Linked DNA regions of Homo sapiens: regions 2, 3, 4 and 5 are each linked to region 1. The links are contacts of gene promoters, found by promoter capture Hi-C in human tissues and cell types (Jung and others, 2019). All regions are on one chromosome and are shown on one strand. The core of a region is centred on a gene start or on the middle of the fragment in contact, and the rest is flanking DNA. Distances in the headings are between cores, read along the strand shown. Region 1 holds the start of ELP6 (elongator acetyltransferase complex subunit 6). Region 2 overlaps SMARCC1 (SWI/SNF related BAF chromatin remodeling complex subunit C1). Region 3 overlaps SMARCC1 (SWI/SNF related BAF chromatin remodeling complex subunit C1). Region 4 overlaps SMARCC1 (SWI/SNF related BAF chromatin remodeling complex subunit C1). Region 5 overlaps SMARCC1 (SWI/SNF related BAF chromatin remodeling complex subunit C1).

Region 1 (2,880 bases), core at 229-2,728:
AAAGATTATGAATAAACCAGGCTGGGCGTGGTGGCTCACGCCTGTAATCCCAGCACTTTGGGAGGCAGAGGCGGGCGGATCACCTGAGGTCAGGAGTTCCAGACCAGCCTGGCCAACATGGTGAAACCCCGTCTCTAACAAAAAATACAAAAAAAAATCAGCCAAGTAATTAGCCCGGTGTGGTAGCGCACGCCTGCAATCCCAGCTACTTGGGAGGCTGAATAAGGAGAATCACTTGAACCCGGGAGGTGAGGTTGCAGGGAGCCGAGATCGCGCCAGTGCACTCCAGCCCAGGCGAGGGAGCGAGACTCCATCAAAAATAAATAAATAAATAAATAAGCCAAAAGATACACTCCTGAAAGAGGTTACTCCTACGTTAAAATGTGAAAGGTTTCAAGGTACCCCGGAGTGTGAGGAGGGTGGAGAGAACAGGCCAGCCTGGGGTGCCCAAGACGGACTTGGTCCAAGCCAATTTGGCTCTGTCCTGCTTCTAACAGTTCTATTAGAGATCACAAGGAGGAAGAGTAAGAAGAACAGCAGCGTTCAATACAATGTGCCAATTGCTCCGGGGCGAGGTGGCGGTTAGGAAGCTCGCCCATGAAGACGGCGGCGAAACGAACTCCCCTCTCCTCTCGGGCCTATTCTGCAGTCTCCTCTGAGCGCCTGGGACCCCCCACCCCAGTGAACATGCACAGCGCGCCACAGTTCACGTCCGCGAATATAACCCAACCCCACTGTCGGCCATGCTTCCCAGGTACTTTTTTTTTTTTTTTTTGAGGTGGAGTCCCGCTCTGTCGCCCAGGCTGGAGTGCGGTGGCGAGATCTCGGGTCACTGCAACCTCCGCCTCCCGGGTTCAAGCAATTCTCCTGTCTCAGCCTCCCGAGTAGCTGAGATTACAGGCATGAGCCACCACGCCCGGCTAATTTTTGTATTTTTCGTAGAGACGGGGGTTTCACCATCTTGGCCAGACTTGTCTCGAACTCTTGACCTTAGATGATGCACCCGCCTCGGCCTCCCAAACTGCTGGGATTACAGGGGTGAGCCACCGCGCCCGGCCGCTTCCCAGGGACTTTTAAGGACACGCACAGCCGTTGAGAATATGCGAGATGGCCCAGAAGCCCACTTTCGGCGGGCCCAAGCCTCCAGTCCAATCCCCGGGTCGATCCTCTGCGGACTACAACTCCCAGGTACCCCGTGCCGGGTCGTCGCGCCATTCCCCGGGGTCGTGCGCACCGCCTCCCGGATGCAGTATTCCGCTGCCCTGCCAGGTCCCGCCCCCTTCCGGCCAGCGGGACCTCTTACCTGCTCCGCCCTGTCGGGGGTGGTGTTAAGCAGGTTATTAAGTTCCACGAACATTCCGAGCTCCTGGGACTAGCGCTCTGGAGGAGAACCCGGAGTGCTGCAGAGACGACGGAGGCTGGAGAGCAAAACACACCCGACAGCCCGGCTCGCGCAAGGAAGCGCGCATGCGCAATGCCACTTTTGCGAGCCAGCCACAGCCAATGAGGCGGGTGCCTCGATGGGACCGCTGCGCACGCGCGTAGACGTCCGTCGAGTCCCAGGTGGTAGGAAACGATGGGCTTCTCTGTGCGACTGCCAGCGGCCTCTGGCGGCTCATTCCGCGCAGATCTGCGTGGCGCCCGAGCCCTCCCAGTGGGCCCCCAAGGCTCCACGCGACCGAGTATTCTTCTTCCCTTGGCCTCGCTCTCTGCCCAGCCCCGGGCTCCTTTTCTCCACACGTGGCTGTCAAGCGCCTTCTGTATGCCCCACACTCCTGGGAGCTTGGGCTACATCGATGAACAAAAACAAAGGACAGGGAATTTATTATTATTATTATTATTATTATTATTATTATTATTATTTAATTGAGACGGAGTCTTGCCCTGTCGCCCAGGCTGGAGTGCAGTGGCGCGATCTCGGCTCACTACAGTCTCCGCCTCCTGGGTTCACGCCATTCTCCTGCCTCAGCCTCCCGAGTGTAGCTGGGACTACAGGCGCCCGCCACCACGCCCGGCTAATTTTTTGTATTTTTAGTAGAGACGGGGTTTCACCGTGTTAGCCAGGATGGTCTTGATCTCCCGACCTCGTGATCCGCCGGCCTCGGCCTCCCAAAGTGCTGGGATTACAGGCATGAGCCACCACGCCCGGCCGACACGGAATTATATCTTGAAAAGTTGTGTGGAGAAAAGCAAAGTGGGATTAGAGAGTACCAATGGGGGCAGGGGTAGGTTCCAGAATTAAAGAGGTTGTCAGGGTGGGTCTCACTAAGAAAGTGTGGTTGCGGCTGGGCGCGGTGGCTCACACCTGTAATGCCAGCACTTTGGGAGGCCTAGACGGAGGGATCACGAGGTCAGGAGTTCGAGACTAGCCTGGCCAATATAGTGAAACCCCCTTCTCTATTAAAAATACAAAAAATTAGCCTGGCGTGGTGGGGGGCGCCTGTCATCCCAGCCACTCGGGAGGCTGAGCCAGTAGAATCGCTTGAACCTGGGAGGCAGAGGTTGCAGTAAGCCGAGATCACGCCATTGCTCTCTAGCCTGGGCAGCAGTGTGAGACTTCGTTAAAAAACAGTGTGGTTGCAACACGCCCTGTATGCCTGTCCTCAGAGCCTTTATACTAACTCTTCCCTCTTCCTGGAATGCCCCTTTTCCCAGATATTAAGCTGATTTTAAAATTCCCCACTTCCTTCAGGTCTCTGCTCCGATGTCACTTTATTCGTGAGGCCTTCCCTGAGCACCTTACTTAAATCACAAACTGTCCCTTTCCCAACACTTCTTTTTCCTTGCTTTTATTTTTTTCCATAACATTTATATCTATTATACCGTATATAGTTTTGTTCTAGCCCAATCAGCCTCAGATCAGTGGACAAACCTGTAATT
Region 2 (2,880 bases), core at 108-2,607, 230 kb after region 1:
TGTAATCCTAGCACCTTGGAAGGTCAAGGCAGGTAGATCGCCTGAGGTCAGGAGTTCGAGACCAGCCTGGCCAACATGGTGAAACCCCATCTCTACTAAAAATGCAAAAATTAGCTGGGCATGTGGTGGCAGGTGCCTGTAATCCCAGTTACTCAGGAGGCTGAGGCAGGAGAATCACTGGAAGGTTGCAGTGAGCTGAGATGGTGCCACTTCACTCCAGCCTGGGCGAAAAAGCGCAACTAAGTCTCAAAAAAACAAAACAAACAAACAAAAATACTATCTATCCACTTCAAATATAATGTATGAGTTCATTATACACACACATTTCATGGCAAGCCTACCTTCTAATTTGCTAACAATGTACACCTGTTACTATAAAAATCAAATATAAGAAATCACTTCCCTAATAAATACTTGGTTGTGGCCGGGTGCGGTGGCTCACGCCTGTAATCCCAGCACTTTGGGAGGCTGAGATGGGTGGAGTGCTTGAGGCCAGGAGTTTGAGAGCAGCCTGACCAACATGACAAAACCCTATTTCTACTAAAAATAGAAAAATTAGCCAGGCATGGTGGTGCACGCCTACAGTCCCAGCTACTCAGGAGGCTGGGGCATGAGAATTGCTTGAATCTGATGCGCGGGATGCAGTGACCTGAGATTCCACCACTGCACTTCTAGCCTTGCCAACAGCCTTGGTTGGTCCTATTTTTAAGACCCTGTCTCAAAAATAAATAAATACGTGGTTGCTTGATATTTTTCTTGGATGTAGAAACAAGGTAAATTAGGGCTCTTGGTAAAACACATTAATCATCATGTGCTTACAGGATTTTCTAACACAAGGAAACAGGACTTAAAAGTAAATAACTTAAGATCAAAACATGCAAACAAATACAAAAACTTACCATCCCTGTTCATTTTTATACTTGTAAGCAGCCCCAAGAATGTGACATAAGGCGCCTCCAGCTTTGAAATCCATGAAACACTTTGCCTAAAAATGATACAAATTACACATGAGAAAAATAAAGCTTCTGACAAAATTACTCATGTCTTAATTCTAAGTTTTATAAATTCAAATATATAAACAAATACTAATTAAACAACCTCCTTAAACATCTTCTTGAATAAACTGAGGAATCAATACATTTTTCTAAAAGTAGATTAGGCTGGGCATGGTGGCTCATGCCTGTAATCCCAACACTCTGGGAGCGTGAAACAGGAGGATCACTTAAGCCCAGGAGTTCAAGACCAGTCTGGGCAACACAGGGAGATCCAGTCTCTAGAAAAAAATTTAAAAATTAGCTGTGCATTGTGGCACACACCTGCAATCCTATCCAGGAGGCTGGGGTGGGAGGATCACTTCAGCCTGAGAGGTTGAGCCTGCGGTGAGCCCTGATCGCCCTACTGCACTCCAGCCCTGGATGACAGAGTGAGATGCTGTCTCAAGAAAAATCAAATGAAATAAACTGAAGTGAAACTACTTTCTTGTAGCCAGTACAGTGGCTCACACCTATAGTCGCAGCTACTTGGGAGGCTGAGATGAAAGAATCACTTGAGCACAGAAATTCAAAACCAGCCTGGACAATATAGCAAGACCCCATACCCCTCCCCAAAAGAATTCCTTTTAAATTCCATAAACATATTATAATTTGAGTAATTAGTCTGTCAAAAGAAAGATTTTAAAAAGCTAAATATAGGCCAGGAGCAGTGGCTCACATCAGTAATTTTTTTTTTTTTTTTTTTTTGAGATAGAATTTTGCTTTTGTTGCCCAGGCTGGAGTGCAATGGTGCTATCTCGGCTCACTGCAACCTACGCCTCCCAGGTTCAAGTGATTCTCCTGCCTCAGCCTCCTAAGTAGCTGGGATTATAGGCATGCATGACCACGCCCGGCTAATTTTGCATTTTTAGTAGAGACAGGGTTTCTCTATGTTGGCCAGGCTGGTCTCGAACTCCCAACCTCAGGTGATCTGCCCGCCTCAACCTCCCAAAGTGCTGTGATTACAGGCATGAGCCATCGTGCCTGGCTACACACCAGTAATTCTAACATTTTGAGACACCAAGGTGAAAGAATCACTTGAGGCCAGGAGTCTGAGACCAGCTTGGGCAACACAGTGAGATCCTACCTCTACAAAAAATTTAAAAATTAGGCCAGGTGCAGGAGTGGCTCACACCTGTAATCCCAGCATTTGGCAGGCCGAAGCGGGCAGATGGCTTGAGCACAGGAGTTCAAGACCAGCCTGGGCAACATGGTGAAACCCCGTCTCAACAAAAAATGCAAAAGAAATTAGCCAGGCATGGGGGGAGTGTGCCTGTAGCCCCAGCTACTGGGAGGCTGAGGTAGGAGGATGGCTTGAACCTAGGAGGCAAAGGTTGCAGTGAGCTGAGACCATGCCACTATACTCTAGCCTGGGCAATAAAACCAGAATTTGTCTCAAAAAAATATAAATATAAATATAAATATAAATATAAATATAAATATAAAAATTAGCCAGGCATGGTGGCACACGCCTGTAGTCCCACCTACTCAGGAGGCTGAGGTAGGAGGATTGCATGAGCATGGGAAGTCAAGCTGTAGTGAACTGTGATGGTGACAAATCCAGCCTGGGTGACAGAGTGTGACCTTATCTCAAAAAACAAATTTTTTTATAAAAAAGATAAATCAAAATGGTTCCAAAGAAAATGCCTGTAACCCCAGTACTCTGGTTGAGAAAGAAGGCAGGGAGGAAGGGAGGACTGCTTGAAGCCAGGAGTTTGAGGCCAGCTTGGGCAAGGAAGTGAAACTTTGTCACAAAGAAACAAAAGAAAAAAAGAAATATAAGGATAGTGGACTTCTTCGCCTTATAAATTCTTGACTATAAATATACAAAAATTAGGCCAGGCATGGT
Region 3 (2,880 bases), core at 156-2,655, 210 kb after region 1:
GTTATTGCCAATGCTTTATTCTATTAATCAGTGTTTTGCTTGCTTTCTGTTAAGACGGTAAACATAAAATTTACCATTTTAACCATTTTATAAGTAAGCAGTTTAGTACTGTTAGGTACACCCAGTGTTGCATGTCCAATCTCCAGATCTCTCTGTACATTATGAAACTAAAACCCTACACCCAATGAACAGCAACTCCCTGATGGAGCATTAGCCAGGCTTAAAAAGGAAATTCTAGCACATGCTGTAACATGAATAAACTTTGAAGACATTACACTAAGCAAAACAAATTAATCATAAAAACACAAATTCTGTATGATTTCATCTAAGGTGGTCAAATTCTTAGTCTCTGATAACAACCATGTTATATTCAGTATCAATGAATTTCACTACTTTGGGTACTTCATAAAATTGGAATCATATGGTATTTCTCCATGTTATTAGCATGTGTTAAAATTTCCTTTTTTTTTCAAGGCTGAATAATATTCCACTGTGTGGGACCAGGAGTGGTGACTCACGCCTCTAATACCAGCACTTTGGGAGGCTGAGGCGTTTGGATCACTTGAGGTCAGGAGTTTGAGACAAGCCTGTCCAACATGGTGAAACCCTGTCTCTGCTAAAAATACAAAAAAAATTAGCTGGGTGTGGTGGTGCACTCCTGTAGTCCCAGCTACTCGGGAGGCTGAGGCAGGAGAATCGCTTGAACCCAGGAGGCGGAGGCTGCAGTGCGCCAAGATGACGCCACTACACTCCATTCTGGGTGACACAGCAAGACTCCACCTTAAAACAAAAAAACTGGCCGGGCACGGTGGCTAACGCCTATAATCCCAGCACTTTGGGAGGCCGAGGCAGGTGGATCATGAGGTCAGGAGTTCGAGACCAACCTGGCCAAGACGGTGAAACCCCATCTCTACTAAAAATACAAAAATTAGCTGGGCATGATGGTGGGCACCTGTAATCCCAGCTACTTAGGAGGCTGAGGCAGGAGAATCACTTGAACCCAGGAGGCGGAGGTTGCAGTGAGCCGAGATCACATGACTACACTCTAGCCTGGGTGACAGAACAAAGACTACATCTCAAAAAAAAAATTGTACTGTGTGTACATACCACAATTTGTTTATCCATTCACCTAATTATTTTAACCTGGGTTTTGGCCATTTTCCTCTTTTACCAATAGGTTGTTTTTTGTTTTTTTTTTTAGGTAAGACAGAGTTTTGCTCTTCTTGCCCGGGCTAGAGCGCAGTGGTGCAATCTCAGCTCACTGCAACCTCCACCTCCCAGGTTCAAGCGATTCTCCTGCCTCAGCCTCCCGAGTAGCTAGGATTACAGACACCTGCCACCACTCTTGGTTAAATTTCGCCATATTGGTGAGGCTGGTCTCAAACTCCTGACCTCAGGTGATCCACCCGCCTTGGCCTCCCAGAGTGCTGGGATTACAGGCCTGAGCCACAGCGCCAGGCCTTGTTTTTTAAGACATGAGATTTCACTATGTTGCCCAGGTTGGAGTGCAATGGCTACGCAAAGGCACAATTATCACATGCCACAGTCTCAAACTCCTGACCTCAAGTGATCCTCCCACCTCAGCCTCCAGAGGAGCTGGAATACAGGCACGTATCACCACACCCGGATTTAACCACCTTATTAGTCCCTTTTTTTTTTTTTTTTTTTTTTTTTTGAGATGGAGTCTCCTTCTGTCACCCAGGCTGGAGTGCAGTGGCAAGATCTTGACTCACTGCAACCTCCATATCCCAGGTTCAAGCGATTCTCCTGCCTCAGCCTCCCAAGTAGCTGGGGTTACAAATGGGTGCCAGCACAGCCGGCTAATTTTTGGTATTTTTAGTAGAGATGGGGTTTCACCATTTTGGTCAGGCTGATCTCAAACTCCTGACCTCAAGTGATCCACCCACCTCGGACTCCCAAACTGCTGGGATTACAGGCGTGAGACACCAGGTCCAGCCCTCATTAGTCTAAGAACCACCTGACATTGCTGAATATCTCACTAATGTGTACTTTCTACATCATTAATTTTTGCTTTTATTATTTCCTTTTTCGTTAGGTTTAATTTGGTGTTGTTTTTCTAATTTCTTGAGAAAGATGTTTGGACCACTGATTTCTAACCTTTCTCCTTTCCTAATATAAAGAAATAAATGTTCCTCTAGGCACAGCTTCTACTACATCTTTTAAAAGTTAATGTTGGCTGGGCGCAGTGGCTCACACCTGTAAACCCAGCACTTTGGGAGGCCAAGGTGGGCAGATCACGAGGTGAAGAGATTGAAACCACCATCCTGGCCAACATGGTGAAATTCTTGTCTCTACTAAAAATACAAATATTACAGCTGGGCATGGTGGTGGGCGCCTATATTCCCAGCTACTCAGGAGGCTGAGTCAGGAGAATCTCTTGAACCCGGGAGGTGGAGGTGGCAGTGAGCTGAGATCGCGCCACTGCACTCCAGCCTGGGCGACAGACTCCATCTTCAAAACAAAACAAAAACAAATAAAAAGCTGGTTATTCTGTTTAAGTCTTTGGGGGTATGACATAAAATCCATTTGGTATGATGTATGAGCTCATCTGTTCACAACGCAAAACTAACTTACCATCGTCTTGTGAGGAAGAATATGGGTAAATGTGGTGGGAAGCTTTTGACTTCTCATCCGTAAATGTTCCCTGGAAAGCAAATGAACAAAAACCACAAAAATAAAGCACATGGCAATGAACTATGAGATTCCAGATACAAATTCCATACAAATTCTAAAAGCATGGTTTTACTTATAGACTTTATATAAAAAAGACTTGCTTCTTTTTAGTCAAATAAAAAAAAGTGATTAACAACAATAAACCAAAAAATTGTCTACACAGTTTAGACTGCTGTATAGAAAAGT
Region 4 (2,880 bases), core at 207-2,706, 180 kb after region 1:
TTTAAAGTGCTAAATTTCTTACATTTTAACCTCAATTATGTAACAGTGATTCTAAACATATTTGATGAGCTAAACACATAGTAACGGGAAAAAATGTGTGCTCACAAAATTCGTATGTTGAAACCCAACTGTAGTGTCCTGGTATTTAGAAGTAAGGCCTTTGGAAAATAATTAAGTCAGGAGGATAGGCCCCTCAAGAACAGGATTAATGCCCTTATAACTGGGTGTAGTGGCTCATGCCTGTAAGTCCTAGCTACCAGGGATGCTGAGGCACAAGAAACGCTTGAGCCTAGGAGGTGAAGTCTGCAGTGAGTTATGATCGCATAGCTGTTATTCCAGTCTGGGTGACAATGCAAGTATGTACTTTACAATAATTAATTTAATGTTATGTGAAGTATATCTCAATTAAAACAATGCTATATTATGCATAAAATCATACACTGGAAAACTGAATGCCTGTTTTCTACTTCACCCTCAGCATCTGTCCCTGTAGTGGTTGAATAAAAGTTACTTTGTCATCCGGGCGCGGTGGCTCATGCTTGTAATCGCAGAACTTTGGAAGGACAAGGCAGGCAGATCACCTAAGGTCAGGAGTTCAAGACCAGCCTGGCCAACGTGGTGAAACCCTGTCTCTACTAAAAATACAAAAATTAGTAGGGCATGGTGGAAGGCACCTGTAATCCCAGCTACTAGGGAGGCTGAAGCAGAAGAATCACACGAACCCGGCGGAGGTTGCAGTGAGCAGAGATCATGCCAATGCACTCCAGCCTGGGCAACAGAGCAAGATTCTGTCTCAAAAAAAAAAAAAAAAAAAAAGTTGGACGCAGTGTGGCTCACGCCTGTAATCCCAGCACTTTAGGCAGCTGAGGTGGGCAGATCACCTGAGGTCAGGAGTTCAAGACCTGCCTGGCCAAGGTGAAACCCCGTCTCTACTAAAAATACAAAAAAAATCAGCCGGGCGTGGTGGTGCATGCCTGTAATCCCAGCTACTCGGGAGGCTGAGGCATGAGAATCACTTGAACTCAAGAGGCGGAGGTTGCAGTGAGCCGAGATTATGCCACGGCACTCCAGCCTGGGTGACTGAGCAAGACGCTGTCTCAAAAAAAAAAAGGGGGGGGGGGGGCCAGGCGAGGTGGCTCATGCCTGTAATCCTAGCACTTTGGGAGGCCAAGGCGGGTGGATCACCTGAGATCAGAAGTTCGGGACCAGCCTGGCCAATATGGCAAAACCCCATCTCTACTAAAAATACAAAAAAAATTAGCCAGGCGTGGTGGCGGGCGCCTATAATCTCAGCTACTCAGGAGGCTGAGGCAGGACAATCACTAGAATCCTGGGGGCTGAGGTTGCAGTGAGCTGAGATTGCACCACTGCACTCCAACCTCGGCAACAGAGCGAGACTCTGTCTCAGAAACAAAACAAAACAAAAAAACAAAACACAAACAAATTTATACAACACTAGACTCAAAAACGGCACAACATATGTCCTTTTCAAGTAGTATAAGCAAAGGTTCACCAAAGTAGACTATATGCTGTGAAATAAAACAAGTGTGAATAATTTTTTTTTTTTTTTGAAACAGAGCTTCACTCATCGCCCAGGCTGGAATGCAACGGTGCAATCTCGGCTCACTGCAACCTCTGCCTCCCGAGTTCAAGTGATTCTCCTGCCTCAGCCTCCTGAGTAGCTGGGATTACAGGCACCCACCACCACACCCGGCTAATTTTTTTTTGTATTTTTAGTAGAGACAGGGTTTCTCCATGTTGTCCAGGCTGGTCTTGAACTCTTGACCTCAGGTGATCCACCCGCCTTGACCTCCCAAAGTGGTGGGATTACAGGCATGAGCCACCGCGCCCAGCCAAGTGTGAATAAATTTCGAAAGACTAGATTTTCAGTGAATGATTTTGGGTTTTTTTGAATCGGGGTCTCACTCCTTAGCCCAGGCTGCAGTGCAGTGATGCAATCATGGCTCACTGAAGCCTCAATGTCCTTGGTTTCCAGCAATCCTCTCACTGAATAGCTAGGACTACAGGGAAAGGCCACCATGTCCAGCTCTGCCATAGATTTTAATTAGGAATTAACTACAAAATAAGCCAGACATGGTAGCTTGCAATTTGGGAGGCTGAGGAGGGTAGATTGCTTGAGCTCAGGAGTTTGAGACCAGCTTGGGCGGTATGGCAAGACCGTGTCTCTACAATGAATAAAAATTAAGCAAATGTGGTGGTGAGCACCTGTATCCCAGCTGAAACGAGAGGCTGAGGTGGGAGTATCACTTGAGTGAGCAGCAAGACGTGACTGCCAATGCACTCCAGCCTGGGCGAAAGAGCGAGAGATCCTGACTTTTTTTTTTTTTTTTTAGATGGAGTCTGGCTCTGTCGCCCAGGCTGGAGTGCCCTGGCGTGATCGTGGCTCACTGCAACCTCCGCCTCCCGGGTTCAAGCGATTCTCTTGCCTCAGCCTCCCGAGTAGCCTGGGACTACAGGTATGCGCCACCACGCCAGGCTAATTTTTGTATTTTTAGTAGAGCTCTGGTTTCAACTTGTTGGCCAGGCTAGTCTTGAACTCCTGGCCTCAAGTGATCCTCCCGCCTCAGCCTACCCAAATGCTGGGATTACAGGTGTGAGCCACTGCACCTGGCCTTGACCCTGACTCTTAAGGGAAAAAAAAAAAAAAATTCCAAACTCATTTTATGAGGCCAGCATAACCATGACAGCAAAACCTGATGAGAAAATGCTAAGAACAGAAAGTTAAAGATCAATATCTGGACGGGCACAGTGGCTCACGCCTGTAATCCCAGCACTTTGGGAGGCCAAGGCGGGCGGATCATGAGGTCAGGAGATCGAGACCATCCTGGCTAACATGGTGAAACCCCGTCTCTACTAAAA
Region 5 (2,880 bases), core at 210-2,709, 150 kb after region 1:
GAAATATATCTACTGGGGCTGTATTATGTTTCTAATTATAAATAGGGATTTTCTAGACATGCTCTATCATGCCCTTTTCCAATGAAATTTTTAATTAAAAAATATTTTTTCATGTTCCTTTCGCCAGGGAACAATAAGAAAGTTCATCAAGTTTTTTTCCAGAATAAAGGTGGAGTTGGGGAAACTTCTGAGATACAAAATCCAAGCAAGACTCAGCATCCAGAAGAGCACAGAGTTGAGAATCTGTAAATGTCTGAGCCTAGGAACTGATAATAATGCTAATAAGAGAGGCAAATTAAAGTGATGTTTTGAAAAGAGAATAATGCGGTGACACACTGGCCAGGAAGGAGGATGATTCAATGAAAGTTTTTAGTAAGTATCTTATAATGCTACAAAACAGCTTCATTCATCCTGCCATAACCCAGGTTCAGGTCTTCATCATTACTTAACCTGGATACACTCACTCACTCTCTTTTTTTTTTTTTTGTGAGACACGGTCTTGCTATGTTGCCCAAGCTGCTGTCCAATTCCTGGCCTCAAGCAATCCTTCCATCTCAGCCTCATAGATCGATTATTATAATTACCTTTCTATAGTAATTTCATCCTTCTCCACGCTGCTAGGGTGAAATATGTTTTACATAAAACACTCTTTCTCTCCTGCCTAAAACTATTTTATTATGTGTCATTATCTTATGAAATTAAGCCAAACATGATCAGGACACTGCCTACTTCTCCCGCCCTATTCCCTACTCTTCACGTTTCAACAATACACAGGCCCCACTGATCTATTCCTACTAGGTATTGTGCCTATGAACCATTTGTTCTGCACTGGAAACATCATGTTTTAGGACCAACACAGCTATACCATTCCCAGAAGCCTGTTCATTATGTCTTATCTACCTGGCTTGTTTGCAAAGCAACTCCTCTGTACAGCTCTTGTGCTCTGGACATACCTCTAATCATAAAGCTGGGAATTCCGCATTCAAGCTTTGTGTTTTATCTTTCTCTGTCACTTAAGCAGACTATGAATTCCTTAAAGGTACAGATTGTGTTCTACAGATCTCTACCTGCAGTGTCTGTCAGTGTCCAAAACACAATACCTAATAAAGTTTACTGAACTCAAACCACAGGAAACTGAACTAAACCAAGAAATAAATCTGACTTTGCTATGGCTCTCAAATGTAAAAAGGCAGACTGTTTTCCTAATTAAAAAAAAAAAAAAAAAAGGTTCTCTTAGCTAAACCAAGCTTGTCCAACCTGTGGCCTGCAGCCTACATGTGGCCCAGGATGGCGCTGAATGTGGCCCATACAAATTCATAAACTTTCTTAAAACACTATGATTTTTTGGGGGGATTTTTTTTTAAGCTCATCAGCTATTGTTAGTGTTAGTGTATTTTATGTGTGGCCCAATGTGGCCCAGGGAAGCCAAAGATTGGACATCTCTGTCCTTAAGAAAAGTTTTTTAATAGAAGATTTACTATGCATCTTAGTGTAGTTCAAAAGTACATAGAATGATATATTTCCTGGGTTTTGCATCAAGAAAAAGTATGTAAAGTGTATGCACACTGTGAGGAAATCTTTCATGTTGGTTACTGAATATCTTCTAATGCTATGTTTCCTATTATTTAGCTGGCATAAAAAATGAGAGAAACTCGGGCCAGGCACGGTGGCTCACGCCTGTAATCCCAGCACTTTGGGATGCTGAGGTGGGCCGATCACGAGGTCAGGAGATCGAGACCATCCTGGCTAACATGGTGAAACCTCGTCTCTACTAAAAACACAAAAAAATTAGCCGGGCATGGTGGCAGGCACCTGTAGTCCCAGCTACTTGGGAGGCCGAGGCAGGAGAATAGTGTGAACCCGGGAGGCGGAGCTTGCAGTGAGCCGAGATCACGCCACTGCACTCCAGCCTGGGCGACAGAGCGAGACTCCGTCTCAAAAAAAAAAAAAAAAGAGAGAGAGAGAAACTCTTACAGTGATAAATAAATGTTAATAAATTACAAGTTTTCTTTGCAGGCATAGCCTTTATGTCTATTAATTATCTAAGGGAAAATAAATAGCATGAGAAAGCAAAGCATACATGACAAACACTAGAGCTATCACGGGAGAATCAGTGAGCTCACAAATTCAAGTCTTGTCACTTTCAAGCCCAAGAATAATTATAAATGAACAGGAAGAATACTGCAATCAGTTGTGGACTTAAAAGAAATTGTGAAGGCCAAGCGCGGTGGCTTGTGCCTGTAATCCCAGCACTCTGGGAGGTTGAGGCGGGCAGATCACGAGGTCAAGAGATCGAGACCATCCTGGCCAACATGGTGAAACCCCGTGTCTTCTGAAAATACAAAAATTAGCTGGGCATGGTGGCGCGTGCCTGTAGTCCCAACTACTCGGGAGGCTGAGGCAGAAGAACTGCGTGAACCCAGGAGGCAGAGGTTGCAGTGAGCTGAGATCATGTCACTGCACTCCAGCCTGGTGACAGAGTGAGATTCCTTCTCAAAGAAAAAAGAAACTGTGAACCCAGTACAGTGGCTCACGTCTGTAATCTAAGTACTCTGGGAGGCTGAGGCAGGAGGATCACTAGAGACCAGGAGTTCAAGACCAGCATGGACAGCATAGCAAAACCCTGCCTCTATATTAAATAAATAAATATGTGCATATATATATAGATACGCATGTACATATATATTAACTTGAAAAAAAATTCTTTAGTCACTGTGGAATAGAGTGGCTCCATTATCTCTCTTTCATTCTGGTGCCCTGATTATATCAACAGAATTTCAAACTTCCATAAAGACTGTCATGGCCTTTTATAGCTACTTATTCTTGTTGTGCTGTTTTGTTTTTTTACCTCAAACTTTAGACTTTATAGGCCTACTCATT

The links. The method cuts DNA at HindIII sites, captures the fragments that hold promoters and counts their contacts. A contact is called where the count stands out against the background at its distance.
Region 2: a fragment that was not itself captured here is called in contact with the fragment with the promoter of ELP6 in region 1 in 3 of the 25 tissues and cell types used here (H1 embryonic stem cells, hippocampus and mesendoderm cells).
Region 3: a contact is called between a fragment that was not itself captured here and the fragment with the promoter of ELP6 in region 1, in 1 of the 25 tissues and cell types used here (adrenal gland).
Region 4: a fragment that was not itself captured here is called in contact with the fragment with the promoter of ELP6 in region 1 in 3 of the 25 tissues and cell types used here (bladder, hippocampus and spleen).
Region 5: a fragment that was not itself captured here is called in contact with the fragment with the promoter of ELP6 in region 1 in 1 of the 25 tissues and cell types used here (IMR-90 fibroblasts).

The regions. Positions count from the first base shown.
Region 1 is chr3:47,512,234-47,515,113 of GRCh38, forward strand. It overlaps ELP6 (elongator acetyltransferase complex subunit 6), which reads right to left and starts at 1,479. Exons shown (of 7, transcript NM_001031703.3): 1 at 1,304-1,479. The coding sequence starts at 1,357. RefSeq lists enhancers at 894-1,003, 1,334-1,443. The HindIII fragment of the contact is 13,702 bases long and covers 1-2,880 here.
Region 2 is chr3:47,745,009-47,747,888 of GRCh38, forward strand. It overlaps SMARCC1 (SWI/SNF related BAF chromatin remodeling complex subunit C1), which reads right to left. Exons shown (of 28, transcript NM_003074.4): 3 at 900-985. Among named protein-coding and RNA genes, the nearest start is that of SMARCC1, 35 kb to the right of the region's middle. The HindIII fragment of the contact is 9,491 bases long and covers 1-2,880 here.
Region 3 is chr3:47,726,430-47,729,309 of GRCh38, forward strand. It overlaps SMARCC1 (SWI/SNF related BAF chromatin remodeling complex subunit C1), which reads right to left. Exons shown (of 28, transcript NM_003074.4): 6 at 2,596-2,665. Among named protein-coding and RNA genes, the nearest start is that of SMARCC1, 54 kb to the right of the region's middle. The HindIII fragment of the contact is 5,354 bases long and covers 1-2,880 here.
Region 4 is chr3:47,694,968-47,697,847 of GRCh38, forward strand. The region is part of intron 11 of SMARCC1 (SWI/SNF related BAF chromatin remodeling complex subunit C1); the gene reads right to left. Among named protein-coding and RNA genes, the nearest start is that of HIGD2AP2, 34 kb to the left of the region's middle. The HindIII fragment of the contact is 4,536 bases long and covers 1-2,880 here.
Region 5 is chr3:47,665,381-47,668,260 of GRCh38, forward strand. The region is part of intron 19 of SMARCC1 (SWI/SNF related BAF chromatin remodeling complex subunit C1); the gene reads right to left. Among named protein-coding and RNA genes, the nearest start is that of HIGD2AP2, 4.1 kb to the left of the region's middle. The HindIII fragment of the contact is 6,014 bases long and covers 1-2,880 here.